2 separate regions of the Homo sapiens genome follow, and region 2 is linked to region 1. Evidence: promoter capture Hi-C in 16 types of primary human blood cells and fetal thymus (Javierre and others, 2016). All regions are on one chromosome and are shown on one strand. Each heading gives the region's core, a stretch centred on a gene start or on the middle of the fragment in contact. The rest is flanking DNA. Distances are from core to core; before and after follow the strand shown. Region 1 holds the start of ACTRT3 (actin related protein T3). Region 2 overlaps TNIK (TRAF2 and NCK interacting kinase).

Region 1 (3,342 bases), core at 500-2,999:
GCTGGATGACCTTCCCATCAGGTAGTTGGTAAACTTTCTCTAGACAATCGGGTTTCTTGGCCATTTCCTCTTCGTAGTTCATTGCCACATAACAAAAGCTCTCCTTGATGTCTTCAACAATCTTTCTGTCTGAAGCACTGAGCAACATGATACCATGGTTCTTCATTAGCACCATGAGGTAGTTGGTGAGGTCAAGGCCTGCCAGATCCAGTTGCTGCACACCATGAGGCAGACAGTAACCCTCAAAGATGGGCACACTCTGGGTAACCCCAGCACCTGAATTCAGCACAAGGCCAGTAGTGAAGCCAGCAGCAAAGAGAGCCAGCACAGCCTGGATGGACATATAGAAGGCAGGAACACCCAGATGCTCAAAAAACATTTCCGTGATCTGTTGCCGGTTGGCCAGTGGGTTCAGCGCTGGCTCAGTAATCAAGACTGGGCCATCACACGGCTTCAGCTTTAGGTTATAGTCATAGATATGCTTCCACATGATCTCCATGTCCTCCCATGAAGTAATGAGACCACGCTCCACTGGGTAACTGTAAGGAAAGCAATAAGATCAATGACAGCTTTTTATTTTTCTAGTTTCTATTGTCTTCGACCCTCAGTTAATTCCCCGCGTTTATTACCAATATCCCTTTATGGGCAATAACTGCCACAGCCTCTCACAGCAGGTAAGTGTCAGCCAAAAATAGCACAGCTACTTACCTCTGCAATTTTTTTTTTTTTTTTTGGAGACAGAGTCTCGCTCTGTCACCCAGGCTGGAGTGCAGTGGCGCGATCTCAGCTCACTGCAAGCTCCGCCTCCCGGGTTCACGCCATTCTCCTGCCTCAGTCTCCTGAGTAGCTGGGACTACAGGCGCGCGCCACCACGCCCGGCTAATTTTTTTGTATTTTTAGTAGAGACGGGGTTTCACCGTGTTAGCCACGATGGTCTCGAACTCCTGACCTCGTGATCCGCCCTGCTCGGCCTCCCAAAGTGCTAGGATTACAGGCGTGAGCCACCGCGCCCGGCCTACCTCTGCGATTTTTGTTGCTTTCCATTTTCTCTGTCCTTTGGAACCTTGTGACTTTTAAAAAATTGGGAAATGTCCACATTATAGTATAGTTTAAATGTCAATTGAAGAGAATAACCCAAGTGACAAAAGGGACCATGAGTTAATATTCTTAAATGAATTCGTTCGATAACTTTATACGTTTTAATACATTTGTATAGCCACAGAGAGCAAAATGTTCAGTTTTTAGATGTGTGGTACCCTTGGAGATTTGTGGCCCGTGCGTTTGTAGTAATTCCAGCTGGATGGGGCTTTCCAGCTCCCGGCTTTCTTATTCTTTCTGTCCCCATTGCGCACCTCCTTTGGGGTCCTTTCCTGCCCCCCGACAACACCCCCAGTCCCCCCACCCCCAGCCACCCCAGCCCCACCCCCCAACCTCCCCAGCCCCACCCTACCCCACCCCCACCCCACCCACCCTCCCCAGCCCCAGCAGCCTGCTGGGAGAAGGAGGTACCTGATGAACAGCGAGCTCCTCCAGTCCTGAGCTTGGTCGCCCACGCAGAGTTCTAGCCCGCCCTGGGCCGCGCGGCTCTGGCCCTTGGCGCGGCCGATAATGTTCGGGTAGATAAACTGGGGCTCCCGGCACCCAGCCACGCCCGCCTTGATCATTCCCGAGCCGTTGTCGATCACCACCGGTAGCTGGCAGTGGTTCATGCCGCCGCTGCTGCCGCCGCCTCCTGTCTCTGAGCCGCTCTAGCTACGGGCTCGGCCGGGGCCGAGTGCCTGGAACGCCGCGTCACAGAGGCCCCGGCACGGCCGGGTGAGGCCAGAGTCCTGGGGGCGCAGGCAGGGGGTCGGCAGGGCCCCAGGCGGAAGGACTCGCTGGACGCACCGTGCTCCTCATGTTACCGCCCGCTATTGCTTCTCGCAGGAATTGGGCCACCCCAACACCTGGAATCCCGGAATCCCAGTATCAGGAAAACCCGACTTTCGCATCAAAAGATTCAACTCTAACCCTTCACAAGTGCATTTCTCAAATACCCAGAAGAGCTATAACAGCAGTTTTATTTTCCAAAGCCACGGAATTCTGGTTAACTGGTGGCGGTTCCGGGGAGTTCTAGAATTCGCCCTTGAAACTGGGGAAAAATGAGACTTAAGAGGAGAAAGTTGTTGCAGGAAGGGAGGCAGTGTCTGCTTCTGAAATGTTAAACTTCTAAAATAAGGAGAAAAATGCTGGAATTTAAATGAGTTTTAAGTACGTTTATTATTGTTTCTGTACCTTGGGCAATGCTTTGTTGTGTTTCTTCCTGTGATTTCCAAGCAAAATGTACGCAATTAAAACAAAATAGTAGTTCCTAGCTTAAATATGTAAATAAATATAAATTTATATATATTTATATAAATATATATAAATTTAAATATAAAATATTAAAAAATATATAAATTTATATAATTTATATAAATATATGTTATATTATATAAATATATTTATATATTTATAAAATATATATTTATATATTTAAGCAAGGATATAAATCGAAATATATATATTTATATTTATTATATGTATAAATATAAATATATAAAAATTTATATTTATATTTATTATATGTATAAATATAAATATATAAAAATTTATATTTATATATCATAAATATAAATATATAAAAATTTATATTTATATATCATAAATATAAATATATAAAAATTTATATTTATATATCATAAATATAAATATATAAAAATTTATATTTATATATCATAAATATATAAAAATTTATATTTATATATCATAAATATATAAAAATTTATATTTATATATCATATATAAAAATTTATATTTATATATCATATATAAAAATTTATATTTAGATATCATATATAAAAATTTATATTTAGATATCATATATAAAAATTTATATTTAGATATCATATATAAAAATTTATATTTAGATATCATATATAAAAATTTATATTTAGATATCATATATAAAAATTTATATTTAGATATCATAAATAAAAATTTATATTTAGATATCATAAATAAAAATTTATATTTAGATATCATAAATAAAAATTTATATTTAGATATCATAAATAAAAATTTATATTTAGATATCATAAATAAAAATTTATATTTATATATCATAAATATATAAAAATTTATATTTATATATCATAAATATATAAAAATTTATATTTATATATCATAAATATATAAAAATTTATATTTATATATCATAAATATATAAAAATTTATATTTATATATCATAAATATATAAAAATTTATATTTATATATCATAAATATATAAAAATTTATATTTATATATCATAAATATATAAAA
Region 2 (3,689 bases), core at 881-3,380, 1.5 Mb after region 1:
TTAAGTCTGTGTATGGCTATGACATCACATGTGTGTAGAAAATAGCAGGATATGCAATTGGAGAAGACAAAGTCCCAATGAAGAACAGCTTCCTGTGTCACGTAAGGAGTACGATGTTAAAGAGTTTACACTTGGGAGTTACAAGATCAGACTGGATTCCAGAAAGGTCACCCTGTCACCATCTTCCCCACTCCTTGCCCACCTTCCTACCCGCTACCACTCAGATCCAGGATTGCAGTTCATCTGTCCTCTACCAAGATTTGGAGATGATTAATCCAGTCAGGATCTGAAACAAAGGCTGGCAGTGAAAAGAGAATAGATCCAAAGAATAAATAAGTAGAATCAACAGGACATGTAGATGGTGTTTTGGAGAATTGAAAGAGAAACAGAAGTCCTCCAGGAAGATAACATCTCTGGCTTGTACAATCTAGGTGGGTAAGAGTGCCATTCTTTGAGACAGAAGACTCGGGAAAACATGAAGAAGGCAGGAAGTGACTTCAGTCAAGGACATAACAAGGTTTTCGGGGGCCGGGTAGACATCCAGACAGATGTGTCCATTAGTCCAGTGGAGAAGACTGGGCTTCAGGAGGTCAAGTCAGTCTACAGAGACAGAAGGACTTGCAATGAACCCCAAGAAAAAACAACCAGCGGGTGGGAAAAAAGAAAGCAGCAATATGACTGCAAATCAAGGAAAGAGAAAGTTTCAGGAAGGAGGATGTGATGAGTTTCAAAAAGGAGGGTATGGTCAGAGCCAGTGCTACAGAAGACCAAGTGAAATAAAGACTAAAAAGAGCTCATTCAATCTGGCAATTATGAAGCCCCTGGGACCTTACACAGCAATGCAGGGACAGACATCAGTTTGTATAGAGTGAAGGAAAAAATGGGAGGTGACTATGTGGAGGCAAAGAGGGTAGAAAAAAGTTGCTTGGTCTGAAAAGAGATGAAACTAGTCCTGAGGTCTCGCTGAAGATGACTGCAGGCTGGGAGGAAAGGGGCAATTCTGGGCAAGGGAGGAGACAACAGAAACAGCAGGAGGAGTCCTCTCACACAGAGGGAAAAGCTTTACATTGAGTTAGGATGAAAGAAGGTAAGAATGTGGGAAGAAGATGAGTTTGAGAAGAAAGGCAGAGGGAGACCTGTGGGATATTTACCCAATAAGGGATACCTGTCCAATGGCTCCAGTTTTTCTAAAAGGCATAGAAGAAGGTCACCTGTGGAGAACAATGAAGGCAGGGGCAGCGGAAGGGAGGAGAGGAGAGTGGTGGAGATTGGGAGCAACTATTCCAGGGAAAACAGGAGAAGGAACTGAGCAGGTACATACACAGTTGATTATTAAGCAGTGCTGAGTTGAGCTGTGCAGCCCAAATGCAGAAAAATAAACAGCTAGACTGACCTTAGGGAAGGGGTCTGCAAGGTGGATATTATGGAAGAACAAAGGATAAAGGAGATAGTACATGTTGGCTAAAAATGATTAAACTAAGAAATCATGAGGCCCAAGGCTGGAGAGACAAGTTATTAAAGTTTCATGGGGACTGAGAGACTGACAAAAGACCCGAGGGCTTAGTCAACATCAAAGAACAGGTGTGTAGGGTGTGAGGGAGTACAGGCTGGAAGCATCAAAGGCTGTGGTCTAAGATTGGGATGCTGTACATTTAAGATTTTAAAAGCAAAACAGACCTGGGTCATAAAAAGTCCAGGTTGTGAATAATAAGAGTGGGGTGTCATTCCAGGTAATAGCAATATAACTATAGTATCAATATTATACCATTTTACAAGTGAGACAAGGACTAGATGACTTATTCAACATCACAGCTGGTTAATGGCAAGGCTAAAGTTTCAATCCAAGTCTTTGCTGCCAAGTCTTATTGACCTTGTCATACAAAATCATTTTACTTGGTACCTTTTTCTTTCAGCCTTTGAATAAGAAATAATAAAATGGTGATTTTGCTTTCAGACTAGGACGACGTTATAAATGAAAGAAAGCTATCAATCTGACTTAAAATGCAAGTGAAAGTAACGGTTTTATTTTCAGAACTCTGGTTATTACCCATAGTGTAGGAGCTTATGAAATTCTGTTAAAGTGTATCTTTGCATACTGTTTTCTTATTATAGAAACATTAAAAGTAACTAGCTATTGAACATGGCAACAAAAATAGTTAAGAACCACTTTATCTCATAAAACATAAATTTCAGCCTCCAGTGGCATGTCTGCTATTATTTCATAATTCTGGGTCCCACTCCCTATTAAGTCCAAGGCTGTGTCAGGATGATTTAGGAAGATAAAGCAATGTTACACCACATATTTTCAACCCAGGTACCTTTAGGCATACATCCAAATGTGAATATCAGATCTGTACAAATGTAAATGGAGTTGTCATTTTCTTTGATTAAGAATCACTCAGGCTCTCCATCACCATTACTAGACAAGACAGAGTGGCCTGCTGCCAACTTAAGGGGGCTGGAGGGATGGGGCAGTGGTGTGGAAATGGCAAATTAGGGGCCTCCTGCAGTGAGTTACTGCTCACCAGTCCTGGGCAGCCCTTAGGACATTATACATTAAGACACATATTCAAATGGAATGATGGTGGTACACATCAGCATAATTCACCTCAAATAATTCATTACAAAAAGACAAATGAACAAATGTCAAATTTGCTGCCTATGATATTAGCTATTACTGTCTTGTACGATATATATTAAGTGAGGAGCCTGCAGGAAAGCATATACAGTTATTCCATAGCTATTTATTTCATCCACTCTTGAGGCAAGTAGCGTCTTTCCCTGTCAGTTGGAACCAATCCAACCCACCCAACCCAACCTACCTAGACTCCCTAACTGTTCCTAGCTATCCTGGTTTCTTACTGAGCTAGTAACTAATAGTTTGCTTTTACTGTATATCAACTTGTCAGGCTAAGGTTTTACATGATTACTATTTAATCCCCACATTGCCCATGTGAAGTAGGTGCTACTACCACCCCCATTATACTAATGAAGAGAGCAAAGCACAGTCCCAAAGTCAGCCAGCTGGTAAGGCCAAGCTCTTAGCGATGCCTGCATGCTTCTGCCTTTGTTACTCCGCCTTTCAAATTTCACCCAACTTCTGCTCTATAGCTTGATGGCACATGTTCAGGAAGAATTCCCATTTACTTCAGTCCATACTGATTACTCCCTTCTCAGAAGTAGCTCATCCATACCTGGATGGAAGCTTTGCTTTCTGGTAATGCCAGCACCCTCTAATTTTCATGGGACAGGCCTTGGAGAGACTGACCCAGTCTTGTTTGCCTGGGAAAATGGTGTTGATGGATGGACAGCTTCTTTGTGGTAGTGAGATTTGGGTTAAATAGCTCCAGTACCTTAAAAATTCCAAGATGTAACCTAAGCCCTAGTCCCCCAAAATATTCAGAAACAGGGATTCCTAGAAATCTAAATCATGCCCTTTAAAAATTTCGTGTCCAAACCTGATAGACTTAAAAAATTAGAAATGAAGAATATTAGAGACATTCATGTCCACTGATATTAACCCCTTCCATCCTACTTCTCTAAAGCCATGCAGCTAGCTCAGAGAAAAGTAGGAACTCCAACTCCTTCAGCTGTGGGAGGTGGGAACAACACAGGCCCTGTGGTCAGATACCTTCAGTTCTGTCACTCACTGGCTGTGTGACCATGAGGAAATCATTCAGATCTCTTTA

What was found. Contacts are between HindIII fragments. The CHiCAGO score rates a contact against its expected background, and 5 or more counts as called.
Region 2: a fragment that was not itself captured here is called in contact with the fragment with the promoter of ACTRT3 in region 1 in 1 of 17 cell types (total CD4 T cells); the score reaches 5.4 in total CD4 T cells.

What each region holds. Positions count from the first base shown.
Region 1 is chr3:169,767,812-169,771,153 of GRCh38, forward strand. It overlaps ACTRT3 (actin related protein T3), which reads right to left and starts at 1,750. Exons shown (of 2, transcript NM_032487.5): 1 at 1,510-1,750; 2 at 1-539. The coding sequence starts at 1,709. RefSeq lists enhancers at 473-617, 1,479-1,738, 1,830-1,974, cis regulatory regions at 545, 1,902 and a silencer at 1,819-1,888. The HindIII fragment of the contact is 4,942 bases long and covers 1-3,342 here.
Region 2 is chr3:171,247,012-171,250,700 of GRCh38, forward strand. All of the region lies in intron 2 of TNIK (TRAF2 and NCK interacting kinase), which reads right to left. Among named protein-coding and RNA genes, the nearest start is that of MIR569, 140 kb to the left of the region's middle. The HindIII fragment of the contact is 2,145 bases long and covers 1,059-3,203 here.